Linked DNA regions of Homo sapiens: region 2 is linked to region 1. The links are contacts of gene promoters, found by promoter capture Hi-C in blood cells and fetal thymus (Javierre and others, 2016). All regions are on one chromosome and are shown on one strand. Each heading gives the region's core, a stretch centred on a gene start or on the middle of the fragment in contact. The rest is flanking DNA. Distances are from core to core; before and after follow the strand shown. Region 1 holds the start of SLC25A39 (solute carrier family 25 member 39). Region 2 overlaps LSM12 (LSM12 homolog).

The links. Contacts are between HindIII fragments. The CHiCAGO score rates a contact against its expected background, and 5 or more counts as called.
Region 2: a fragment that was not itself captured here is called in contact with the fragment with the promoter of SLC25A39 in region 1 in 1 of 17 cell types (naive CD8 T cells); the score reaches 5.6 in naive CD8 T cells.

What each region holds. Positions count from the first base shown.
Region 1 is chr17:44,321,446-44,327,846 of GRCh38, reverse strand. SLC25A39 (solute carrier family 25 member 39) reads left to right here and starts at 3,024. Exons shown (of 12, transcript NM_001143780.3): 1 at 3,024-3,136; 2 at 4,270-4,369; 3 at 4,504-4,563; 4 at 4,995-5,039; 5 at 5,295-5,428; 6 at 6,080-6,147; 7 at 6,289-6,401. The coding sequence starts at 4,285. It overlaps LOC124904009 (a long non-coding RNA gene), which reads right to left and starts at 2,394. Exons shown (of 2, transcript XR_007065768.1): 1 at 2,226-2,394; 2 at 299-905. RefSeq lists enhancers at 1,942-1,991, 1,250-2,101, 2,172-2,231, 2,282-2,361, 2,522-2,711 and 1 more, a cis regulatory region at 600-1,277 and silencers at 2,812-3,241, 3,262-3,481. The HindIII fragment of the contact is 4,927 bases long and covers 1-4,279 here.
Region 2 is chr17:44,041,702-44,048,102 of GRCh38, reverse strand. The region is part of intron 2 of LSM12 (LSM12 homolog); the gene reads left to right. Among named protein-coding and RNA genes, the nearest start is that of LSM12, 22 kb to the left of the region's middle. The HindIII fragment of the contact is 3,208 bases long and covers 876-4,083 here.

The DNA.
Region 1 (6,401 bases), core at 1,775-4,274:
GCCAGGTCAGGGTGCTGCTGGAACACAGCACCTGGGTTGAGAACTGGACAGGGTGGGAGCCCATCTGGCTCAGGCACGTTGGGGGGTCTAATGCTGACTCTTTCATTTGAGTGACCTTGGGGCGATTTGACCTTTGGGGCCCCCCTTTTCTCATCCATAAAACGGGAGAGTGTGTGCAGGGAAAGTCTGGGTTCTCCTCCACACGAGTAAAGTCACTACACACAAGAGCCCTCAGTTTCCTCCCCTGTTCCGTAAACCAAAACGTCTAAGTTGTAAAGAACCTTGGCGGAGAGTAGGCTTTCACCTTGACCGATAGTTTATTTATTTATTTATTTATTTATTATTTTTTGAGACAGAGTCTCCCTCTGTCATCCAGGTTGGAGTGCAGTGGTGTGATCTCGGCTCACTGCAGCCTCGACCTCGCGGGCTCAAGCGATTCTCTGGCCTCAGCCTCCCAAGTAGCTGAGACTACAGGTGCGCACCACCACCGCTGGCTAATTTTTGTATTTTTAGTAGAGACGGGGCTTCGTCATGTTGGTCAGGCTGGTCTCGAACTCCTGTCCTCAGGTGATCCGCCCACCTCGGCCTCCCAAACTGCTGGGATTACAGGCGTGAGCCCGACCTTGACTGATAGTTGATTAAATTATTTCGTGTCATTTCTGAACTCAGCTTGAGATGGGAAGGGAATGGAAAGGACGCCTTCTCTCGGGCCCTTTTGCCCAGCGCCCCTTTACAGGTCACAGATTGCACTCTCCCTGCTCCCAAGCTGGAGTTTCAGAGCTGTGGGGGAGCTCAAAGGCATTTTGTCAGGGAAAGCTGATAGTTGGCCCCTCGGAGTCCACGTGCTAACCCGGCAGGCGCCGGCTGACTGGGCTCCTCCAGCGCCGGACGCGACCAGTGGGGGCCTGAAGGGCGGGGAAGGCAGAGACGTCAAAGTCGAGGCCTACCCTTCTTAAAGGCGCAGGCTAGGAGTACCCATCTCCCCGCCCGCCCCCCCCCGCCTCCACCCGCCCGCCCGCCCCCCTCCGCCACCGCCCGCGCGTGCTGGTTTCTCTGTTAGGACAAATAAGCAAGATAGCACAGAAGTTCTAAACGCGAAGTGGGTGGTGGGGCCTGGGGTACGGGGCTGCCCCGGGAAATAAAGTGTCTCCCTGACAAGCGGGATCGGAGAGGGCAGCGCTGGACTTAAGCCTTCCTGTCTCCCGGGGAGGCAGTGTGGAGCCCTGGGAAAAGCACCCGGCCGGTTCGAATCTCCGGCTCTTCACGTCGAGCCTCAGTTTCACTTTCTGTAAAACGGGGTAATCTATTTCTTTTTCAGACGGAGTTTCGCTCTTGTTGCCCAGGCTGGAGTGCAATGGCGCAGTCTCGGCTCACCGCAACCTCCGCCTTCCGGGTTTAAGCGATTCTCCTGCCTCAGCCTCTCGAGTGGCTGGGATTACTGGCATGCGCCACCACGCCCGGCTAATTTTTTGTATTTTTAGTAGAGACGAGGTTTCACCATGTTGGTCAGGCTGCTCTCGAACTCCTGACCTCTGGTGATCCGCCCGCCTCGGCCTCCAAAAAGGCTGGGATTACAGGCGTAAGCCACTGCGCCCGGCCTTTTTTTTTGAGACGGAGTGTTACTCTGTTGCCCAGGCTGGAATGCAGTGGTGCGATCTCGGCTCACTGCAACCTCCGCCGGCCGGGTTCAAGCGATTCTCCTGCCTCAGCCTCCCGAGTAGCTGGGATTACAGGCGCCAGCCATCATGCCCGGCTACTTTTGTATTTTTAGTAGAGACGGGGTTTCACCATGTTGGCCAGGCTGGTCTCGAACTCCTGACTTCAAGTGATCCGCCCGCCTCGGCCTCCTAAAGTGCTGGATTACAGGCGTGAGCCACCGCGCCCGGCCTGTGGTAATCTATTTCAACAATAACCTACTGCAAAGAGTTTTGAGACTCAGAAGAAATCACGATACGAGAGCAACCAACACCAAAACGTCGATGCCCTCCCGCACTCAGTGCTCTTCCTCTCCGCGCAGAGTCATTCCGGGCCTTAGGCGAGGTTGTGATTTGCCCAAGGTCACGCGAAGGTGGGATCTGGCTCCCCATGGCTCTCCCGTCTCCCCCGGCTTGCTCACGTCCCAGCCCGCCCGGCCCGGGCTGCAGCTCAGCTAACCCAGTGGCGCACACCCGCGCGGGGCCCTGTGGTTTACAAAGCGTTTTGCAGTTGCAGGCCTGTCCTGTAACCTGAAAAATGGGGGCGATGCTAAGGCCGGCGAGAGAAGTCGCCGCGAAGTTTTCAAGTCTCGGCGGGTAGCCCGGCAAGTAACTTCGTCGTTATTGTGTGGTCTCCCGGCGATCTCGAAGAACTCATTCTCACTGCCGCCGCCACGCACCTGAGGACACCGAGGAAGAGGGCCAGTGCGTCACCCTCGCCGTCCAGAAGGCGCTGGGGTTTCCAGTGCCGCGCGCGGCCGGGGCGGGGCTGGTGAAAATGCGCTGTTAAGGCCGGCGCGGCGGCTCACGCCTGGAATCCCAGCACTTTCGAAGACCGAGGTGGGCGGATCGCTTGAGCCCAGGAGTTCCAGACTAGCCTGGGCAAAATAGGGAGACAAAAATAAAAGTAACAAACCAGCCGGGCGTGGCGGCGCGCGCCTGTGGTCCCAGCTACTCCGGAGGCTGAGGCAGGAGGATCGCTTGAACCCGGGAGGTCAAGGCTGCAGTGAGCCTAGATCGCGCCACTGCCCTCCAGCCTCGGCGACAGAGCGAGGCTGAAAAAGATGCTGTCTAAAAAAAGATGCTGGAAGTGCGTGCTGCTGCCACGTTAAGCGCGACGTGGAGACCGCGAAGTTGGCCGGCAGCTCTCAGCGCTGGACAGGCATGGAACTCGCCCGCGCGGCCCCGTCAAGGGGGCGGGACCGTCGCAGGTCCGGGCGGAGACGCGAGTGGGCGGAGCCGGGGACACTCCGGGCTTGCGGCTGGTCGGCCCGCGGCGGGCGGGGCCTCGTGGCGCGGTGTAGGGGCGGGGCCCCCTTGGCTGCTTTCGGCGTCGGCCTAGGTGCGCTGCGAGCGCGCGCGGACCGCGCACAGGCGGCGGAGCCGGTATGGGCCCGCCTGACCCTGGGCGCCGCGCCGCACGAGCACCAGCCTAGAGCCAGGTAGGCGGCACTGGGCCGGGGCTGGGGGCGGAGACGGAAGCGGGGGTCTCCGGGCGGCCGTGCGAGCCAGGGCAGGTGCTGGGGCCGTCGAGCTGGCGTGGTCCCCCTCACCTGGCGGCTCTCCGCCGTTCGGGGCCGGGAGTGTCGCCGAGGGTCGGGGAGACGTCCTGGTCCTACGTTCCTACTTCCCGCTCTCCCGGCTGCGCCCCGGGCCTGCATTTTGGGGCGGGAACCCAGAGACTGCTCTTTCTCTCCGGGCCCCGGGTCTGGCCCGTCCGGCCGGGCGGGGAGGGCCGGGCATCCCAGCCCGCAGTCCTGAGGAGGCGACGGGCCCTTCTTGGTCACCGGATCTGTTTACACGTCACCCTCGATGCCCGGCCGTCCCTCCACGCCCAGTAACTTGGGCTCTCAGGTGCCTGCCCGGGGCCTTGGTGCTGGAGTGGGGGCTGTGGGGGCAGCACAGGTACTCTGATTTTGGGGCCACGAGGGCCAAATCCGCGCCTGCACGTAGGAGGTGCGCAGTGGACACGTGCGAGGTGGACGAGGGAAGGACCCTGGCTCCTACTGCATTCGAGCGATAGGTCTGGCACCCTAGCTTCCTTCGGAACCACTCCTGAGTGACCTTGGGCAGGCCACCTCGTCTCCCCGAGCCTTAGTTTTCCCCGGCGGAGGGGGGCGGACAGTCCCTGCTTTAGAGGTCATTGCCAGGGTTGTTGAGGCAACAGATGTTTCGAGGGCGGTGGATGAGGGTTGGGTTAAAGTCTCACAGTGGGCCGGGTGCGGTGGCTCACGCCTGTAATCCCAGTGCTTTGGGAGGCTGAGGCGGGCGGATCACGAGGTCAGGAGATCGAGATCATCTTGGCCAACATGGTGAAACCCTGTCTCTACTAAAAATGCAAAAATTAACTAGGCGTGGTGGTGCGCGCCTGTAGTCCCAGCTACTTGGGAGGCTGAAGCAAGAGAACCGCTTGAACGGGGGTGGATGTTGCAGTGAGCCAAGATGGTGCCACTGCACTCCAGCCTGGCAACAGTGCGCAGAGCGAGACGCCGTCTCAAAACAAAAGTCTCACAGTGGCCCAGCCTCCTTTCCTGCCATCCCTGGAGTTGTGGTCTGTTTGAGGTTTGGTTTTCAGGACTGAAGCTTCAAGATGGCTGACCAGGACCCTGCGGGCATCAGCCCCCTCCAGCAAATGGTGGCCTCAGGCACCGGGGCTGTGGTTACCTCTCTCTTCAGTAAGACCTAGGGGAGGTGGGGTGGGGGCGGGTGGGGATGGGGCAGACCGGAGATTGGAGGCTGTGTGGTCCTGGGGGAGGAGTCCTAGGGGTGGGGTCCTGAAAGGAGCCTTCAGACCCGCTTCCTCCCCCAGTGACACCCCTGGACGTGGTGAAGGTTCGCCTGCAGTCTCAGCGGCCCTCCATGGCCAGCGGTGAGTACCTGACCTGGAACTAGTGAGGGGTGGTGCCTGGGCAAAAGAAAGATCTCCCAGAGGCTGGCCGTGGTTTCTCATACCTGTAATCCCAGCGCTTTGGGAGGCTGAGGTGGGTGGATCACCTGAGATCAGGAGTTCAAGGCCAGCCTGGCCAACGTGGTGAAACTCTCTCACTACTAAAACTACAAAAATTAGCCGGGCTTGGTGGCATGCGCCTGTAGTCCCAGCTACCTGGGAGGCTGAGGCAGGAGAATCGCTTGAACCGGGAAGGTGGAGGTTGCAGTGAGCTGAGATTGTGCCACTATGCTCCAGGGTGGGCGACAGAGCAAGACTCCATCTCAAAAAATAAAATAAAAAGATCTCCCAGAGATGGGGTCCCTAGGGCGGGTGGGGGCTCTCCTGACTTGAGGGGCTGCCTTGTATTTTAGAGCTGATGCCTTCCTCCAGACTGTGGAGCCTCTCCTATACCAAATGTGAGTGCCCCAAGCCACAGGGAGCATGGGAGGGTGCAAGGGGGAGACAGTCCTTGTCCCTGTCCCCAGGGCACCAGTGGGCTCCACAGCCATGGACTAGCATATACTCCCAGGTCCTGCCAGCCAGTCCTGTGACCTGCACCAGAACATCCACACAGGGACCTGGCCTTTACTGGCCTTCCAGGGATAGGGGCCCACTGCCTCCCTGCAAGGTTCTAGGATCCTGTCATTATAATGCCCCCTGCCTTTCCCCAGTGCCCTCCTCTCTCCAATCCACAGGGAAGTGCCTCCTGTATTGCAATGGTGTCCTGGAGCCTCTGTACCTGTGCCCAAATGGTGCCCGCTGTGCCACCTGGTTTCAAGACCCTACCCGCTTCACTGGCACCATGGTGAGGAGCAGCTGGGTCCGTAGGGATTCGTCGGTGTCCGTGAGGAGTTCGGTCTGGCTGGGCAGCAGACCCAGGAGTAAAGGGATTGGGCAAGGCACGCAGAGGTAGCCGGTTCCGTCAGGAAGTGCTTCCGGAGAAGGCAGTACCTCCATGGGGTGTTTGTTTTCTTTTAGACAGAGTCTCGCTCTGTCACCCAGGCTGGAGTGCGGTGGTGTGATCTCAGCTCACTGCAACCTCTGTCTCCTGGGTTCAAGTGGTTCTCCTGTCTCAGCCTCCGAAGTAGCTGGGATTACAAGCGTGCACCACCACCTGCCGCTAATTTTTGTATTTTTAGTAGAGACAGGGTTTTGCCGTGTTGGCCAGGCTGGTCTCGAACTCCTGCCTCAAGTGATTTATCCGCCTTGGCCTCCCAAAGTGCTGGCTGGGATTACATATGTGAGCCACCGTGCCTGGCCTCCATAAGGTTTTTGAAGGGTGACCAGGTGTCCGCCTGGACCCAGCTGCTGGGGTACTGCATGTGTAGAGGCAGGGAGGCCTGAGGGCTGTGGGCAGAGGCTGAGGGCGTCAGGCAAAGGCCTAGCCTGGGCCAGCCCCATCACAGACATCACTTGTGTCCCTCCTCTTCCCCTGGGCTGGTGCCTGCTTGGCCAGGATGCCTTCGTGAAGATCGTGAGGCACGAGGGCACCAGGACCCTCTGGAGCGGCCTCCCCGCCACCCTGTGAGTAGCCGGGTCCTGCACCACTCTCCTCTGGTACTTCCTGACCCTTTGCTCCCTGTTGAATGGCTAGGTGGGGCAGGTGATGCTTTAAAAGTTTGGGTCCTTTTGGGAGTCCCAGCTAACCTCTCTCTGTATCCCCAGGGTGATGACTGTGCCAGCTACCGCCATCTACTTCACTGCCTATGACCAACTGAAGGCCTTCCTGTGTGGTCGAGCCCTGACCTCTGACCTCTACGCACCCATGGTGGCTGGCG
Region 2 (6,401 bases), core at 1,230-3,729, 280 kb after region 1:
CTTGTGTCCAGAATGTATAAAGAACTCTTTTTATTTGCGTGTGTGTGTGTGTGTGTGTGTGTGTGTGTGTGTGTGTGTGTGTGTTTAATACGGACACTGTCTATGTTGTCCACACTGGTCTTGAACCCCTGGCTCAAGTGATCGGCCTTCCTCAGCCTCCCAAAGTGCTAGGATTACAGGTGTGAGTGACCACGCCCAGCCAAGAACTCTTAATAAGGCAGCCCGGGCTTGGTGGTTTATGCTTGTAATTCCAGCACTTTGGGAGGCTGAGGTGGGAGGATGATTTGAGATCAGGAGTTTGAGACTAGCCTAGGGAACACAGGGAGACCCCATCGCTACATAAAATTAAAAAAAAAAAAACAGAACAAACAAACCTGCCAGGCATAGTGGTCCTTGCTTGTGGTTCCAGATGCTTGGGAGGCTGAGGTGGGAGGATTGCTTTAGCCAAGGAGGTCAAGGCTGCAGTGAGCCATGATTATGCCAGTACACTCCAGCCTGGGCAACAGAGCAAGACCTATCTCAAAAAAGAAAATAATAATGATAATAAGACAATCCAGGCTGGGCATGGTGGCTCATGCCTGTAATCCCAGCACTTTGGGAGGCCGAGGCAGGTGAATCACCTGAGGTCAGGAGTTTGAGACCAGCCTGGCCAACGTGGTGAAACCCTGTCTTTACTAAAAATACAAAAATTAGCTGGGCGTGGTGGTGTGGGCCTGTAGTCCTAGCTACTCTGGAGGCTGAGGCAGGAGAATTGCTTGAACCTGGGAGGCAGAGGTTGTGGTGAGCTGAGATGGTGCCACTGCACTCCAGTCTGGGTGACAGAGCAAGACTCCATCTCAAAAAAAAGACAGTCCAATTAAAAATGGGCAAAAGCTTTGAATACTGTATCAGAGAAGATACAGTAATTACAAATAAGCACATAAGATGCTTGATATCATTAGACATAAAGGGAAGTACAAGTGAAAACCACAGTGTGAAACTGCTATACTTCTGCTAAAATGGCTGAGATCAGAAAGGCTAACAGTACCCAGTGTTGGTGAGTAGGTGGCAGATTTAGAACTATCAAACATTAGGGCCGGGCGCTGTGGCTTACGCCTGTAATCCCAGCACTTTGGGAGGTCGAGGCGGGTGGATCACGAGGTCAGGAGTTCGAGACCAGCCTGGCCAACATAGTGAAACCCCATCTCTACTAAAAATACAAAAAATTAGCCAGGCGTGGTGGCGGGCGCCTGTAATCCCAGCTACTCGGGAGACTGAGGCAGGAGAATCACTTGAACCCCAGAGGCGGAGGTTGCAGTGAGCCAAGATCGCGCCATTGCACTCCAGCAAAAAAAAAAAAAAAAGAAAAAAAAAAAGAAAACAGTTTGACAGTTCCTTTTTTTTTTTTTTTTTTGAGACGGAGTCTGGCTCTGTTGCCCAGGCTGGAGTGCAGTGGCGCATTAATCTCAGCTCACTGCAAGCTCCGCCTCCTGAGTTCACGCCTTTCTCCTGCCTCAGCCTCCCGAGTAGCTAGGACTACAGGCGCCCGCCACCATCCCCGGCTGATTTTTTGCATTTTTAGTAGAGACGGGGTTTCACCGTGTTAGCCAGGATGGTCTCGATCTCCTGACCCCGTGATCCATCCGCCTCGGCCTCCCAAAGTGCTGGGATTGCAGGCGTGAGCCACTGCACCCGGCCATTTTGTTTTGTTTTTAAGGAAACTTCACTAGCAGGAAAACAATTACTTTAAAAATTAAACATACACTTACCATATGACCCAGAAATTCTACTCTTAGTTATCTACCTAACAAAAGTAAAAACATGTCCACACACAGAGACTTTTTACTTTTAAAAAGCAAAATCTTTTTACTTTTAAAAAGTAAAACGTTGGCTGGGCATGGTGACTCACACCTGTAATCCCAGCACTTTGGGAGGCCGAGGCGGGCGGATCATGAGGTCAGGAGATCAAGACCATCCTGGCTAACAGGGTGAAACCCTGTCTCTACTAAAAATACAAAAATTATCCGGGCGTGGTGGCGGGCGCCTGTAGTCCCAGCTACTCGGGAGGCTGAGGCAGGAGAATGGCGTGAACCCAGGAGGCGGAGCTTGCAGTGAGCCAAGATCGCGCCACTGCACTCCAACCTGGGAGACAGAGCGAGACTCCGTCTCAAAAAAAAAAAAAAAAAAGTAAAATATTTTTACTTTTACATACACAAAGACTTGTGTGTGACTGCTGCCAAAAACTGGAAACAGCCGGGTAGGGTGGCTCATGCCTGTAATCCCAGCACCTTAGGAGGCCAAGGTGGGTGGATCGTTTGAGCTCAGGAGTTCAAGACTATCCTGGGCAATACGGTGAAACCCTGTCTCTACAAAAAAATACAACACCTTAGCTGGGCGTGGTGGTGTGCTTCTGTGGTCCCAGCTACTTGGGAAGCTGAAGTGGGAGGATTGCTTGAGCCCAGTGGGTGGAGGTTGCAGTGGGCTGAGATTGTGCCATTACATTCCAGCCTGGGTGATAGAGTGAGACTCTGTTTCAGAAAACACAAAAAACAAAACTGGAAACAATTCAGATTTTGATCAACTGTCCATCAACTAGTGAATGAATATATAAAAGGTAGAACTGTATCCTCATAGTGGAATGCTTCCTAGCAATTTAAAAAACTATTGGTACATGAAACAAAATGGATGAACCTCAGAAATGTGCTAAGTGGAAGAAGCCAGAGACGTAAGTCAACACATTGTATCATTCCATTTATATGAAATATCTAGTAAAGGAAAAACTATAGAAATAGATTTAAGGCCAGGCATGGTGGCTTACGCTTGTAATCCCAGCACTTTGGGAGGCTGAGGCGGGCAGATCACGAGGTCAGGAGTTCGAGACCAGCCTGACCAACATGGTGAACCCCTGTCTCTACTAAAAATACAAAAATTAGCCAGGCGTGGTGGTGGGCACCTGTAATCCCAGCTACTTGGGAGGCTGAGGCAGGAGAATCCCTTGAACCTGGGAGGCGGAGGTTGCAGTGAGCTGAGATCGCACCACTGCACTCCAGCCTGGGCGACAGAGCAAGACTTTGTCTCAAAAAAAAAGAAATAGATTTTAAAAAGTAATCTTGGTGGCCCTCCCAAGCCTAAAAGGCACATTCTACACTTTCTCTACTGAGGGCAGCTTTTATTGGTTCTCTCCAGTGGTTTGGCAAAAACCATAAACTTACTAACTTGGAATAATTGGGCCATTTATAGGTATATAGTCATTTGCAAAAATATGTGGGAAAATTTAGATTTGTACAGCAGCTAAATTGAGGGTAGAGTGATAATCGTTTGCTTTACAAAAGAAGGCATATTCATGTTCTGCATGAGTTTTCATGACAAAAAAGGGCAAGGTAATCTCCTTCTCCCCACCCTCAATTTTGAAAAAAGGAAACACTTCTAGTTTCTTTTATTGAGAGCGGTCTCCCCCATTGATGGGGACCCCTAATTGATGGGGTCCTCTCTAGGAGATTTTATCCCATTTGTACAGCTTCCTGGTAAAAGCAGATCTGTGTAGCTGAGTCCGGATCCCTAAAGCATTACTGTAGGTTGAGTATATTGGGGGCAAACTGAAAATATATACAGTCAGCTTACAGTCATTTCTGCTGACTTTTCTAAGTGCTCCCTTACATCATTTAGCATTTGGGATGTTTGCATTAGAATTGAAATAGAGAATTGTCTAGTCCATTCTCCTTTGCTTTTGGAGACTTTAGGGGAGATTGCACTTGCACAACTGGTATTTTGGCGGGGGTGGGGGGTGTATTTTGAAATCATTGTTCTATAACCAGTGTGTCATTGTTACTCAGCCTGTCTAAAGAATCACTTCTGGCTGAGATTTATATCCATTTTATTTTCTCTCTGGCAAAAATTCAAGTGGCTCTTCTTCCAGCTTTTTTTTCTCCCCTTCTCTAGCTTAATTTGTCAGTTCCATTCTTAAACATTCTGCATAGATGCCTGGTTTCCTGAGCCAACTCTTGTCTCTTACTAAATGGGGTGATGTTATGTTTTTAAGCTGCTATGTAGGTGACAACGACATTTTACTCTTTGAACGTTCAGACTATCTAGTCAACACAAGCTTTATAGAAGCAGCTTTCTCTGACCCAGCATTCGGAGATGATTTGGATTTTCAGGAATAAACGTTTTTAAAGGGGATTGAGGTTTCAAAGTGAGATCTTCCAGCCTGCTTATAAGGTAAATGCCCGCCTGTCCACTAGATGCTTCCCAGGAGCTCTGCCACCCTCCAGTTTTTCCTTCTTTCCTTAAAGACTTCAGATTTTTTTTTTTTTTTTTAATAGAGGCAGGGTCCCACTATGTTGCCCAGGCTGGTCTGTAACTACTGGGCTCAAGTGATCTTCCTCCCTCAGCCTCCCAAAATGCTGGGATTACAGGCGTGAGCCACAGCGCTGGCCGACTTCAGATTTTCTTAAGGCATTGTTTGGAAAGCAAGATTCAAGGAAACTCCTCCTTAGGTTGCAGTGAGCTGAGATTGCACCACTGCACCAGCCTGGGCCACAGAGCAAGACTCCATCTCAAAAAAAAAAAAAAAAAGGAAACTCCTCCTTGTTACCGGGGTTTTTTTGGTGCTTGAGTAAGCGTTGCTTGTTGCTGCTTAAAATACATCATCAGCAGCTCTTTCCATAGAAACTACAAGGCTTTCTTGTTACAGTTGGGATTGCCACTGCTTGGAATGCTGTCAGCCTGTGTGTTTATTTGTCTGTAAAGTTATAGCCTGGTAGGGCCAGAATGGCAGCCAGTCTTGAAAGATTATATATATATTGCTGCTGTATTTGTCTCTCTCCATGTCCTAGAGATCCTGTGAAAAAGGAGCTCTGGCTTCAGATCACTGCAGGGTTTTGCCATTCTTCCCTCTCTTACCCGGGGAGGCTGAAATGACAGCGTGAGCTGGCCTTCTGTGCTCACGCCTGCTCCTCCTTCCTAAGACAGTCTTTGAAACTTGCAAGGACAAGAATACCCATGGCAATTGAAGGCCTCCTTTTTTTTCATAGTCAAACCTAAGCCTTGAGAAAGTGCTTAATTTTATAAACAAAGAATTAGACACTTGGTTTACTTCCTCTGCTATAAAACTATGCTTGGAGCCAGGCGTGGTGGCTCACGCCTGTAATACCAGCACTTTGGGAGGCTGAGGTGGGTGGATCACCTGAGCTCAGGAGTTCAAGACCGGCCTGGCCAACATGGTGAAATCCTGTCTCTACTAAAAATACAAAAAAATGGCCAGGTGTGGTAGCTCACGCCTGTAATCCTAGCACTTTGGGAGGCCCAGGTGGGTGGATCACGAGGTCAGGAGATCGAGACCATCCTGGCTAACACAGTGAAACCCCATCTCTACTAAAAAACTACAAAAAAATTAGCTGGGCGTGGTGGCAGGCGCCTGTAGTCCCAGCTACTCGGGAGGCTGAGGCAGGAGAATGACGTGAACCTGGGAGGTGGAGCTTGCAGTGAGCAGAGCTTGCGCCACTGCACTCCAGCCTGGGCGACAGAGCGAGACTCCGTCTCAAAAAAAAAAAAAAAATTAGCTGGGGGTGGTGGCGGGCACCTGTAATCCCAGCTACTCTGGAGGCTGAGACAGGAGAATCGCTTGAACCCAGGAGGCGGAGGTTGCAGTGAGCTGAGATCGTGCCATTGTACTCCAGCCTGGGCAACAAGAGTGAAACTCAATCCCAAGAAAAAAAGCTATGCTTAGTTTATGGTTTGATGGATCACTGTAAAAGCAGAATATAAATGTTTGAAGATTCCAAGCATTAAGGTACTTTTGGAATATGCTGTAGGTATGGCTCCCCCATTTTTTTTTTGAGACGGAGTCTTGCTCTGTCGCCCAGGCTGGAGTGTAGTGGTACAATCTCGGCTCACTGCAGTCTCTGCCTCCCGTGTTCAAGCGATTCTCCTGTCTCAGCCTCCTGAGTAGGCGGGATTACAGGTGCACACCACCACACCCATCTAATTTTTGTATTTTTAGTAGAGACGGGGTTTCACCATGTTGGCCAGGTTGGTCTCAAACTCCTGACCTCAGGTGATCCGCCTGCCTCGGCCTCACAAAGTACTGGGATTATAGGCGTGAGCCACTGGGCCCAGCCAGTGCCTCTTTTTATTTAAGGAACTGATGTTTGGGGACAAATTGTGTGTTCTCGCGCGTGTTTGCACATGTGCTGCAGCATTGTTAGACTCAGCTGTTCATGTTCATGGGTCTGAAGAGTCTCCAGATTATTTGTTGGACTTTTAAGATGCATTGTTTGCCTTTAATTTGTTTTAACTACCTTGTCTAGCACATTTGTTTTGTCTTACACTCAAACAAATTTGTACCTCTGGAATCTCTAGCAACCAGTAGTGTGGGGTAGGGATCAGAAATGTGCTGGAGAGGTGATAGGGATTGACAGGGT